Linked DNA regions of Homo sapiens: region 1 is linked to region 2. Evidence: promoter capture Hi-C in 16 types of primary human blood cells and fetal thymus (Javierre and others, 2016). All regions are on one chromosome and are shown on one strand. Each heading gives the region's core, a stretch centred on a gene start or on the middle of the fragment in contact. The rest is flanking DNA. Distances are from core to core; before and after follow the strand shown. Region 1 overlaps GSG1 (germ cell associated 1). Region 2 holds the start of EMP1 (epithelial membrane protein 1).

What was found. The method cuts DNA at HindIII sites, captures the fragments that hold promoters and counts their contacts. A CHiCAGO score of 5 or more calls a contact.
Region 1: a contact is called between a fragment that was not itself captured here and the fragment with the promoter of EMP1 in region 2, in 4 of 17 cell types (monocytes, M2 macrophages, naive CD4 T cells and 1 more). The highest score is 8.2, in monocytes.

The regions. Positions count from the first base shown.
Region 1 is chr12:13,080,566-13,086,677 of GRCh38, forward strand. It overlaps GSG1 (germ cell associated 1), which reads right to left. Exons shown (of 7, transcript NM_001080555.4): 7 at 2,967-4,678. The coding sequence ends at 4,336. FAM234B (family with sequence similarity 234 member B) reads left to right here. Exons shown (of 13, transcript NM_020853.2): 13 at 60-2,884. The coding sequence ends at 65. Among named protein-coding and RNA genes, the nearest start is that of GSG1, 20 kb to the right of the region's middle. RefSeq lists an enhancer at 4,039-5,238. The HindIII fragment of the contact is 4,641 bases long and covers 2,478-6,112 here.
Region 2 is chr12:13,192,731-13,198,934 of GRCh38, forward strand. It overlaps EMP1 (epithelial membrane protein 1), which reads left to right and starts at 3,996. Exons shown (of 5, transcript NM_001423.3): 1 at 3,996-4,142. RefSeq lists an enhancer at 6,036-6,204. The HindIII fragment of the contact is 10,564 bases long and covers 1-6,204 here.

The sequences.
Region 1 (6,112 bases), core at 3,548-6,047, 110 kb before region 2:
TTTCTTTGAACATCTCTACCATGAAAAACAATAAAGTCACGATAACTCTTTTTCCATAGATCTAATCTGATGGAATCTTCAGTTGCAGAAGAAGTGAACAGAGTGGATACCCTCTCTACTCTCCTGTCACTGTAAAATCAGTTCTATGGAGAGAAGACTTCTTCGTCCTCATTTACCACCTCCCTGATGGTTGCAAAGGCTTGGGAAGGCATGTTGGAGTCTTTGACGGCAGCATGATCTATTTGGCTGGGGCATCTTACCTACCTTTTCAGTCCCTGCATTAATCCCCTCTAGGAACTCTGCGTGGATCGTTTGGAAATGTGAATCTCTTAAGTATTTAATTTTTTTGGTATGTCTAATTTATGAAGTCTTGCTGGGAAAGCCAGTGAAGTCTATGACTAGGAAACATTTTGTTGTACATTGTGCTGTGTGTGTGTATATTTTAGTGTTGTGGTGAAGTTATTTTCCAGGTATGTCCTAAGCTTCAGGGATCCAGTTTCTTGTCCTTCTGAAATATATCTGGTTTGTTTGGTCATTTTGAGACTTCCAGATGCCCTACCTCTGATGTTGAGGGCCACTTATTTCTCTCCTTATTCTTTCCCACCTGTACCTTGGCTACTTCCAAATTGTAGACAGAATGAGAAAGATTTATAGTGGAAGACTGAGTTAGCCATCCAAGCATTTTCATCTCTCTTGTTTTATATCCTATTTCCTTAGATTTTCCATCCATGTCTATTAAGTGACCACAAGAATAACTATATTCCTATCACAAGGGGAGCAAGAGGATGTAGTCTCAGTGACCCATCTCTGACCAAGTCCACATGTTGTGTTATATGTGGCTCTGATGGTTCTGCCAGTCATGATCTTTTTTCTGTGGCGACATCAGAAGTGTATGTTTGCATGCTGTCTTCAACTTAGAGGAGAACTGGAAGTCAGGAGCCTTTGATGTCCTTATCCTGCTGTATGTCTTCTCTGCATCTTTTTCTATAGGGCACCCTCCTTAGCTCCCCTCACTCTGTTTTCTCTTCTATTCAGGGATATGTTTCTGGACTTTTTCTTCTGCTACTTGAGTCCAGGATGCAACCATTTTGTCCTGCATCTCTTCTTTCCTGTAGAGCCTTTGAAGCATTGTATTTTGGGAAAATTCTTCTGTAAATACTATAACTTTTATAAATGGTTAAGTTATTTAGAATTATCTCCAGTGCTTACTTCTCCCTTCTTCTGTATAAATCTGCTACTTCAATTAAGTTCTCCTCTAAACTTTTAGGTCATTGTTTATATAGCAGAAAATTCAATGTTAGCGGATGGAAAACTGCTTCTTGAATAACCTTGATAGGTCATCCCTGAGTGCACCTCAGGTTCTCTCTTTACCTGGGCTTGTATCTTTTTTTTTTTTTTTTTTTTTTTTTTGAGACAGAGTTTTGCTCTTGTCGCCCAGGCTGGAGTGCAGTGGCACAATCTCGGCTCACTGCAACCTTCGCCTCCTGGGTTCAAGCGATTCTCCAGCCTTAGCCTCCCAAGTAGCTGGGACTACAGGTGCCCGCTACCATGCCTGGCTAATTTTTTTTTTTGTATTTTTAGTAGAGACGGGGTTTCACCATGTTGGCCAGGCTGGTCACGAACTCCTGACCTCAGATAATCCACCTGCTTCTGCCTCCCAAAGTGCTGGGATTACAGGCGTGAGCCACCATGCCCGGCTGGGCTTGTATCTTTTAGCTTGTGTTAGTAAAAGGATTCTAGAAAATTATGAAGTCCAGATTCAAAGGGATCTCTGTTAATTACCCACTGACAGGCATTATGACCTAACAGGAGGTTGGTAGCAGTAGATCCAAGCATGCATGTTGCCTGGCCTGTAGATTGGCCTTATCAGGTTTCTGGGTGCCTCTGCCTTAAGATCCTGAAGGCAAATTTTGTTTCAACAGTTTGGAAGTCATCTGTGGGTCCAGCTTGACTTTGGAGGAATAAGAAGATACTTCTAGAGTATGGGAATGATTCCAGATAATTTCTGGGATTTGAATCTACTTGAGTTTAAGGGCCTGGGACCTAATTTGGTTTAGTATAGAATTTGAAGAATTAATTTATAGGCAGCTGAATACCCAAAACTTGGGTGGTGGTCCTGTGGTTTGGCTGAGCTGTCCGGGCATAACCTGGTTCTCTGTTATGTTAAGGCTTTCTGGGAAGCCAGCCACTCTGCGCAGGAGTGAAACATGAAGTTGTTTTCTGAGGACCTGTTTTGGTGGGATTGTTTGGGCAGAGGACTGTGTTTATGCAGGGCAAATCCCAGAAAGATAAGAGGAAGCTAGAGAAACTTAATGTACCTGAATTCTTCATGGTGTATTTGCAAACTAACTTAACATAGATTCTTTTGACTATGGTAAGTTTGAATCTCTCCTTGCCAAACAACATTATAAGTTTAGTTTTCTTCTTCCTCTTGCAGCCGGTACAGAAAGGTGTAAGTGGTGGCTGAAAATTGAGGAAGCTTCATCTGACCAATGTGGGTGCTGGTTTCTTGTGAAATGTGTCCCTAAGCCTCCTTCTCCTTGCAGGCAGCCACCCACCCAGGTGTCTAAGATAGGACATGCTCCTTTCTTTCTCTAATCCCATCCTGAGGTTGCCGGCAAAGCCAATATGACCACTACTGAGAAATAGTAATGACTTCTACAAATGCAAGGGTCTTACCCTCCTCTTTCCCTTAAACACCCTCCCTTTTCCTTAGACCCCGTTTTTGCCATCCCCCAAATGTGTGGTATGGTGAAACTAATCCCCTGAATGTGAATTGCTATCCTTATTGCCCTATTAAAGAAGAGCCAGCTGGTATATTGTCAGGAAGCACTATTTAAAATGTGAACTGTTATAGAGTAAATAAATAAATACTCTACAGGAATACACTTGTGTGCCATTCTCATTCGTCTTAGTCATCAAGGATGGTTTGTTTCCCCATATGGAAAAGAGAACGGGCAAGTAGATGGGTGGCATTCTTTTTTTTTTTTTTTTAAGTTCTAGGGTACATGTGCACAACGTGCAGATTTGTTACATATGTATACATGTGCCATGTTGGTGTGCTGCACCCATTAACTCGTCATTTACGTTAGTATATCTCCTAATGCTATCCCTCCCCCCTCCCCCCACCCCATGACAGGCCCGGTGTGTGATGTTCCCCACCCTGTGTCCAAGTGTTTTTATTGTTCAATTCCCACCTGTGAGTGAGAATATGCAGTGTTTGGTTTTCTATCCTTGCGATAGTTTGCTCAGAATGATGGTTTCCAGCTTCATCCATGTCCCTACAAAGGGCATAAACTCATCCTTCTTTATGGCTGCATAGTATTCCATGGTGTATATGTGCCACATTTTCTTAATCCAGTCTATCACTGATGGACATTTGGGTTGGTTCCAAGTCTTTGCTATTATAAATAGTGCCGTAATAAACATATGTGTGCATGTGTCTTTATAGCAGCATGATTTGTAATCCTTTGGGTATCTACCCAGTAATGGGATGGCTGGGTCAAATGGTATTTCTAGGTCTAGATTCTTGAGGAATCAGATGGGTGGCATTCTTTATGAAGGAAATAATAGGGTACATTTCTCAGAAGGGATGAAAAGGTGGGATCCAGAGAGGAGCCTATGCCCCCTTGTTCACTGGGAAGTCCCTGGTGTGACTGTCCAGAAGGGAACCACAGTCCAATCTGAATAGCCTTGGTGGGCTATTTCTAGAAGTGACCCTGACCCTGTGTGCTGTTGGCGCCTTCTCATGTTAAACCACTCTCCTAAGGGCTCCTGGGACAATATTTAATAACACTTTTACTGGGTACCTACTGTGTGGATGCAGGACACTGTCCCAGGCAGTGTGGAGGACTTCTGTGCTATATGACAAAGCACTCAGGGGCGCTTCTGTCTTCCCATCTGTGACTTCCAGAACAATTCGCGCGTACCATGGAAAGTTGAGCCACAGTCACACTACCGTTAATTTGCTCACCTCCATTTCTCCAATTTCCAGACCAATAACTAGATGTATCAGATCCTTAAGGTCGGGAAGTGTATTTTACTCTTCTTTTTATCTCCATGGTTTAGCCCAGAACCTGGCACAGAAACTATCAGTAAAGAAGGGAATTCTGGATGTGTGAGATGTGGGGTGGGTGAAACAAGATGGAGCTGTAGAGGAAAAGAGAGCAGTGGCACCCAGGAATCCCTTAGGACTTAAAGATAACCCTTATTCATAGCCTTATTCGTAGCCTCTAAAAACCATGCTCAAGAGACGGATGTTGGCTTAAGCACATGTTGATAATCAGCAGACGTGTAAGGTAGGGCTCAAGCCTACTCCCCAAACCCGCTTAACTCCTAACACTGCTCTTCCTCTACAGATGACCTAACTGCTTCTTTCAGCTCCTGGCTGGCCCCTCTTTGAAATCCCTTGTTCCGCAGCTCGGAGTAGAAGTCGACTCCCTCAGAGACAGAGTGGATGGGCTGATTATGATACTGGTGGTAGCTGGTCAAAGGACCCACGGTGGGGGCTGCACTTGACAGCCGCCGAGGGAAACACTGATGGTGATGTGGTAGGCAGTTCGGGTTTTCCTTGAAGCTCTTACTATGCTTGCACTTGAACTCCAGCACCATCCTGGTGTACGTGTTGAAGGTGGTGACAGCCGACGCCATGCAGCAGGTGAAGGAGAGCCAGGCCATGCTAGGGACAAATGCACAAAAAGATTGGACAGTAAGAATAGGACTTTCTTGAGAGAAAAATGCCATGACCTCTTCCTACTAGTGGACTAGCTTATTGCCTTGTAGGGATTTAGGGACTTTCCACCATGTTTCAGGTAAAGAACTGTGGGAAGAGAACTTACTGGTTTCTAAAAAGAGAATGACTCATGTAGTCCTAGTATCAGACAAGGAGCTTAATGGATTTGTTTTCACTGAATTGATGAGTTGTCGGTGCCATGCCCTTTTCTATCTGGTGTGCCTATTGTGTGTGTATGTCTGTGCATATTTGGACTCCTGTTTCCCAAGCTGCATTGACCCTTGTAAAATCTCCAAGATTCCCCAGGCCTGAAGCTGAGCTGTATGCAGTGGACATAACCTACTGCATACCCTCCCTCTCCCACCCCAACACACACACACATGCCCTGCCAAAGATGTCCCCCCACTCAGATGCTGGGAGGAATCATCCCTCTTCCATCTTCCTTTGTTTTGAACTTAGCAGTCTTAGGGTCCAAAAAGGTGAGCCTCTGAAAGTCATTCAGGAAAACATTTACTACAAATCAGGAGGTATTATAGGTTGTACTAGTGGAATTTGCTTCATATGGAAACAGTGTGGTTTTGGCTTAAGGGAGTTTGTAATGGGTGGGAGAGGAGCTGGAGATTAAGAGAATGTGGATGGATTCAAGAAAGGAAAAGAAGACATTAGGCAACCATATTAAACACATTCCTGAAAACTTGGAAAGTCAAATCCCTAAATCTCCCTGTGGTTCTGGGAAGCTCAGGAAACAGGAAGTTTTGTGAGGTTAGGGAGGGATTTCATGAGGCCAAGTGATGGTTAAAGCCAGGTCACATGCGGGCACTGTGTGTTCATATCTGCTGCCTCTGACAAATGCAGTAGGTTCAGTCTGGGATGCTTCTGGGAGTTGACTAATGGGCGTTGCCTAGCCTGAGCTCCACAGCCGTTAATGCCAAGAATGGCCTGAAGACAGACAAAAGGTGAGAAGTGCTGGATCTGGGAGCTGCATTGAGCTGATGCCCTGGCTGGTGTAGTAGACTCAGACTCCCAAATTATTAGCGCAGATTGTACCACAGGAAAGGGGATAGGGCCTCACAACAGACTTGCAGGCTTCCTTCCCCGAATGGAAACTTGAGCCCATCACTGTGTCTTTTCAGTGCTCTCAAAGTACTTAGCACTTAGACAGTAAATATCAGTACAAGTTGGCAACTTGCTGTGAATAAAGAGTGCTCCTTAAGGGAGAAAGTAAGAGCTCTCAAAGATAATATTTAACTTGAATGTGTTGCTTTGTGATGGTTGCTGTCGCTCTCTTTTTAAGAGAACTCTAAAATGACTGACCCCTTAGTTCTTTAAGGGTTAGAGAATGACCCTAGGGTAGTGAAGTTTTATTTCCAACACGGTTCA
Region 2 (6,204 bases), core at 2,746-5,245:
AAATGGGCTGGGTGTGGTGGCTCACACCTGTAATCCCAGCACTTTGGGAGACTGAGTTGGGCAGATTATCTGAGCCCAGCTACTCTGGTGGTTGAGGTGGGAGAATTGCTGGAACCTGGGAGGCAGAGGCTTCAGTGAGCCAGGATTGTGCCACTGCATACCATCCTGGGAGACAGAACGAGACTCTGTCTCAAAAACAAAGCAAAACAAAAAATTAGCCAGGTGTGGTGGCACACGCCTGTAGTGCTAGCTACTCAGGAGGCTGAAGTGGGAGGACCGCTTGGGTCCAGGAGGCGGAGATTGCAATAAGTCGAGCTTGCACCACGGCACTCCAGCCTGGGTGACAAAGCGAGACCCCGTCTCAAAAAAACAAACAAAAACAAACAAAAAACCCAAAAAACAACAAAAACACCCCCAAAAACCATAAAGAAAGCCAGAAGAAAGCCTGAGAGAGAAATAGAGAGAGGAGAGTTGGAGAAAGAAAGAAAGGAAAGGGAAGGAATACAACATTTCTGGTAAATTCTCAAATTTCAAAGAGGAGTTGTGAGGAACAAACATTCCTTTGACTTGGGAAGATACTGTGTAACTTTTTCCCCCATTCTATTTACCTTCCAAGCAGTGTGTGCTAATATTAATATTGACATCCCTGTTCATATAATAGCTTTGGGGAACATGTTGCATAGTTTGGGATTCTTTTCGGTTAACTGAGTTTGAACAAAAACAAGTTCAAGCTATTATTAGTTTTCTTTTCTGTGGGCTGTAGGGGCCAGACCTGCCTTAGTAGACTTCTTGTATCAGTCATTAAAAGCCTTCGTTTCATGCATTCATTAAAATGTTTACGCCGGTTCAAACTTGAAAATCTGCCCCAAATGGCAACGTGCCAGAAGTTGATTCTTGTTGCTTCCGAAAAAGGGGAAAATATCCCTTTGCTGGAGTAACATTTGCACTGGGTGAGAGAGACATTCCCTCCCAAGAATATATGGCTTTATTGAGTGAGGTCAAATGAAACTTTGTCCGGTTCTTTGCCCATGCAGAAAATGAATGTGTCTAATTTACCTTCCAAATGGGGGAAATGGGAGCAGAAAGGCAGCTTACTCGACATTGTTTGGAAAGACCATATAAACGCCAGGGGAGCTGTATCTCCAGCCCCATGTGGTTTTAGGCCCTGAACCGTTTACTGTCTGTAGTCTCAAAATTGTCTGCTCATAGCCAAAGGAACACTCAGGCTTAACGAGTTAATCACATCCAGAGGCACAAAAAGCTAGAACTTCAGCCAGAACAGATCCAATTGCTTTCCCAGACTGGATAACTTTGTTTTATAAAATAAGCTCAGTGATATTTCAAGGGTTAATTATAAGTCTTTAGAAATCCTGGACTTGCATTCATCTTTTAAAAATATTTACACAACTTGGCTTTCTATGGCACCACTCTGTGTGTGCATGTGTGCATGTGTGTGTGCGTGCATGTGTTTTTGCATGTGTGCATGGGTGTGTTTTCACAGCTCAATGCATTTAATATTTTCTCTCCAAACCTAGACATCTCCAAAAGCACACAGGAAGGTGAGATTTATCAGACCCATTTGGAAGGTGATGCTGTCTACTCACTTTAAGGTGAAATGGAGGCAGGCAGATGCCTCGCTCACAGCCACTGCCAGGTAGTAGGCGTGGAAACTGGGCCTCCTGCTTTCTGGGTCCTGTTTTGAAGCCCGTCCCTGAGCCCAGCGTCTCTCTTTGTGAAATCCATGGAAATCCAGATAGACTGAAGGATTCCTCTACTCAAGTACTTTAAGAAAAGTTCCTGATTTTTCCCCTTGTTAAGCCCGAGAAGGAGGTGGGAGGGAGAATGCCTCCCCTCTGCTATTCCTTGGCTCCAGGTTTCTCTTTAAGAAATGCAATCAGACCACATACTCCTCAGCATCTGAGAACACTTCCTCTGGAGTCCAGTTCTCCTTTCCAGGCAGCTGAGGGAAGAGAGACTTTAAAACTGGCAGAGGGCATCAGGGGTGAAAGGCAACCCTGAGAGTAGGAAAAGGCCAGGGAGACAGGCCGATTCCAGCAGGGGAGACTGGCCCATCTGGAGCGCCAGCACATGCCTGGGGATTTCCTGGCCTCACCTGCAGACACCCTCCCCTCCCTGAGGGTTGGGATGCTCAGAGATCACAGGGACTCTCAACCCACTGCTGGGAGTGGCCCCTCTCAGACAGGCATTTTTATTATCAAATGAGCAATGAGAGAGGGGAGAGGTGAGGAACTCTATGAGAAACATGCAGTCTTTTATCACGTCATCAGTTTTCAGTGAGAAAATCCAGACCTTCTTACTTTTACAGAGATAGAATTCAGTTCTCAGGGACTTGTGAAGATGCAGCATCATCAAATCATTGTGTGTGTGTGTGTGTGTGTGTGTTGTGTTTTCCTTATCATCCACCTTAGAAAATATTCTCCACATTCCCATGTTAAAATATTTTTTCCTAAAATCCATCCATCCACATGCCAACATCCTAAAGACAGTAATATAGGTTCATTGCAGAGGATTTGGAAAATACAGAATTGTGACCAGAACAAACTAAACTGCATCCATAATTTTATCATCGAATTTGATCAACATTTTGGTGAATAGCCACCAGTCTGTTTTCTATCTTTTTAGGGAATATAAGTTCCAAGAGGCAGGGATGTCATTCACTTCTGTGACTCAGTGCTCTGAATCAGGCCCAGTGAAGACTGACGTGCAGCCTGTATTGGCAGAATGAATGAATAAATACTACACACGCATATTTTGAATTGAAATAAGTTGTCAGGGTGCAGCAGAGAATAACAGAAATAGAATTGCTTGGATGTGCTGACCTAGATCCAAGCTGCTACTGGTAACGTACTGTATCTCCTTGAATAAGTCACTTCACCTCTCTGGGCCTGAGCTGCTTCTTCAGTAAAATAATCCTTGTAGCTAAGATTTGTTGAGCGCTCACTATGCACACTGCCATGAGCCCCTATATGTGTATTTCTCATCATAGCTCTATGAGTTACATACCTGCCATCTCCATTTTATGCATGAGAAAATAGGCATGGAGAAGTTAAGTGGTTTGCCTAAAGTCACACAGCAAATTTGTGGAGAGCTGGGCTTGAACTCAGGCATCTGGGCTTTTACTCTCTCCAGTGGAATGCCTGGGCTGTGGGATGAGATGACTTCACAGGCCTCTCCCAGCTCCAGAGTTGAGAGAGAGAGAGGAGTGGTGCAGGGAGGTAGTAGGGATGATTATGCTACTGGCCAAGTTCAAGAAAGTCAATTGTAGAACAAGGTCCAGCTGATTATTACAGAGAGCAAAGTTCTTAACTAGAGGACTTCCTCCTGGAATGTGGAGAGTCCACACGGGCACTAGCAGAGCATAATGAAAGACCAGGAATTCTCTGCTGTTCAATCAGTGCTCCATCACTCAGAGGCAGGGCTGCAAGAGCTCCTAGTGTGTCCCCTTCGCCTTCAGGGCCTCCCTGTACAGCCACCCACAGGACAGTGCACCAGGGTCAGGCAGGGAAGTAAATAAAAAAAGGAATCTGATAATTCCTGACAGTGAGCAGCAGCTGATGCTTTTAATGGGGGAGGAAGACTGGGAATCTCGCTTGATGATGACCTAGGACTTCAGTCAGCAGGACACTGGCCCCTTTCCTCCCCCTCCCAGGCTGAAACCTTGTGTTTTGCCTTATGTCCATGGTAACCAAGTCTCCTTTTTGGTGAGGAGGAATGGGCTTCAGTAAACAGATCTATTTGTGTGATCCTGTTACTCATTTGAAGCAATGTCCCTCCTTTTTTCCACTGTGGTCTGTGTGTCTGAGTCAGAGAGAGCCTACAACAGGGTTCTTTGAATTGATGGCTCACTCCCAGCCACTCTTGACTGACTGCCAGCTTAGCAGGGCGTAGCTTACCAACAAATCTTTTTTTTTTTTTTAAAGCCAGACTGATTCATAGAAACTCCTTTAAAACACGGTGAAAAGAAACCGCCCATTACACACCCCAGTACACCAGCAGAGGAAACTTATAACCTCGGGAGGCAGGTCCTTCCCCTCAGTGCGGTCACATACTTCCAGAAGAGCGGACCAGGGCTGCTGCCAGCACCTGCCACTCAGAGCGCCTCTGTCGCTGGGACCCTTCAGGTAGGACAGCTCCCAACGCTGTGGGGACTCTCAGCAAAACTTCTCCTTCCTTTCCACGGCTCTGCTTCTTCTGACCTCATCTTAGTTTTGCTTTTTCTTTTCTTCCTTCGCTATTTTTCTATGATCCTCTAAGAACCAAGTCCTTGAAACTTTTGGCTCAAAGTGGATACAGAGACAACTTTTTCTAGAAAGTTCAGAAAAGTGTATTTTGAGGACGGAGTCTGGGGAAATCAATGGGATGGGGCTAAAATCGTGCCTGGCAGTGACCGGGTTCTTGTTCTAGGATGTGGAGGGAGCAGGGACTTTGAAACAAACTGGGATAGGATCCTGTTTATGGAGGAAACACCACACACCTTGGAAATGACATCGGGAACTGGCCAGATGTTTTTCACCTCCTCCGTTTTGATTCCGATTGCTTCAGGACTTGAACTGTTACTCTGCTCGCTGGTTGTTGGTTGGGATTTTTTGGGTGGTGGTGGATAGATAACTGGTTTTCAGTTTATTTTTGACATTGCTTTTCCTGCCTGTTTGCTTCCCTATTCACTTCTGTTTAAATTTAAGTATTTTTTTTCTCCTCACAGGATGGGAAGAGGGGGATTGGTTTGTTTAAAGAAAACTGTTGGCCGGGCACGGTGGCTCATGCCTGTAATCCTAGCACTTTGGGAGGCTGAGGCGGGCGGATCACCTGAGGTCAGGAGTTCAAGACAAGCCTGGCCAACATGGTGAAACCCTGTCTCTACTAAAATACAAAAAGTAGCCAGGCATGATGGCAGGTGCCTGTAATTCTAGCTACTTGGTAGGCTGAGACGGGAGAATTGCTTGAATCCGGGAGATGGTGGTTGCAGTGAACTGAGATTGCGCCACTACACTCCAGCCTGGGCAGCTGAGTGAGACTCTGTCTCAAAAAGGAAAAAAAAGAAAAAGAAAAAAAATGAAAAAAGAAAACTGTTAGAGAGAGAAAGAGAGGGAGGCAAATGGTGTTTTAAATGAAACGTGGGAGGGGTTCACTTGGTCGAAGCAGGAGCTGATGAGGATTCCAGATGCCTTCTCTTGGCCAGATGTGGAGGGCGGGGGAGGCAAAAGGGAAGCTGGGTTTGGAGAAGAGGGTGGGGCAGGAGAACTTCATCTGTGCCTGTTAAAAATTGTTGAGTGGCTTTGTGCTTTCACCCCAGAAAGAGCTGCCTTTCAGTGCTGAGTGAAAAGATGGCATACCAGAAACGATAAAAGAACTTTTAAAAGAAAGTGGATGTGGAATTTCTTTGCATGGAAGGCAGTGATTGTTTTGAAATGCTTATCTTTTCTCTTGTTCCCGAAATGTGATTGTATAAATGCAAACACTCATGCTAATCATGAAATCTGGAGGAATGAAGAAGGGTGCTTTTTCTTTTTTTTCTTTTTTTCTTTTTTTCGGTTAGCATTTTGGGTGAGTGTCTACCGAGGTGTGGCCCATTTCAACATAGACACTGGTATATTTTTTCCCCAAGTAAACAAGATGAGAATGACAGGATTCAGCTTGTCTGACAAAGTTAGGCTTTTCCTTTAGAAAGGCAGTACGTTGGGAGAGAAGTTACATGTAATCAACCCTGTGTTGAGCAGGCAATGCTCCTTGTAAAACTGCCCCAAGGGGGACGATTGAGTAGGCATCAGGGCAACTTTTCAAGATGAAGGGAACTCCTACATTTGCTTCACATGTTTATTATTTCCACATTACATGGATGTGGATTAGCCATTATTAAATCAATAGTGTTAATATCCTGTGAAAATTATACAAATCTTTTAGTTCTGTGCAGGTTAAAACTAATAACCAGTCAACACACGGAAAGCCCTGACAATGTTGGGAGTGTAAACCATCATGAACTGCATTATTTGTGGCAAGGTTTCACATGATACTGTAGGTTTATAAAGGAGAAAATATGCTACATGTTACTTCCTGGAGTTTGAAGACAATTTAGAAAAATACCGTTCTGATTCCTGCTCTCTGCTCTTCCTCCAAGAAGTAGTGAAAGAGTCCCTTAGCTGTGAGAGTTTTTCTGGATTTCAGCTTTGACAATCCCGAAATGTG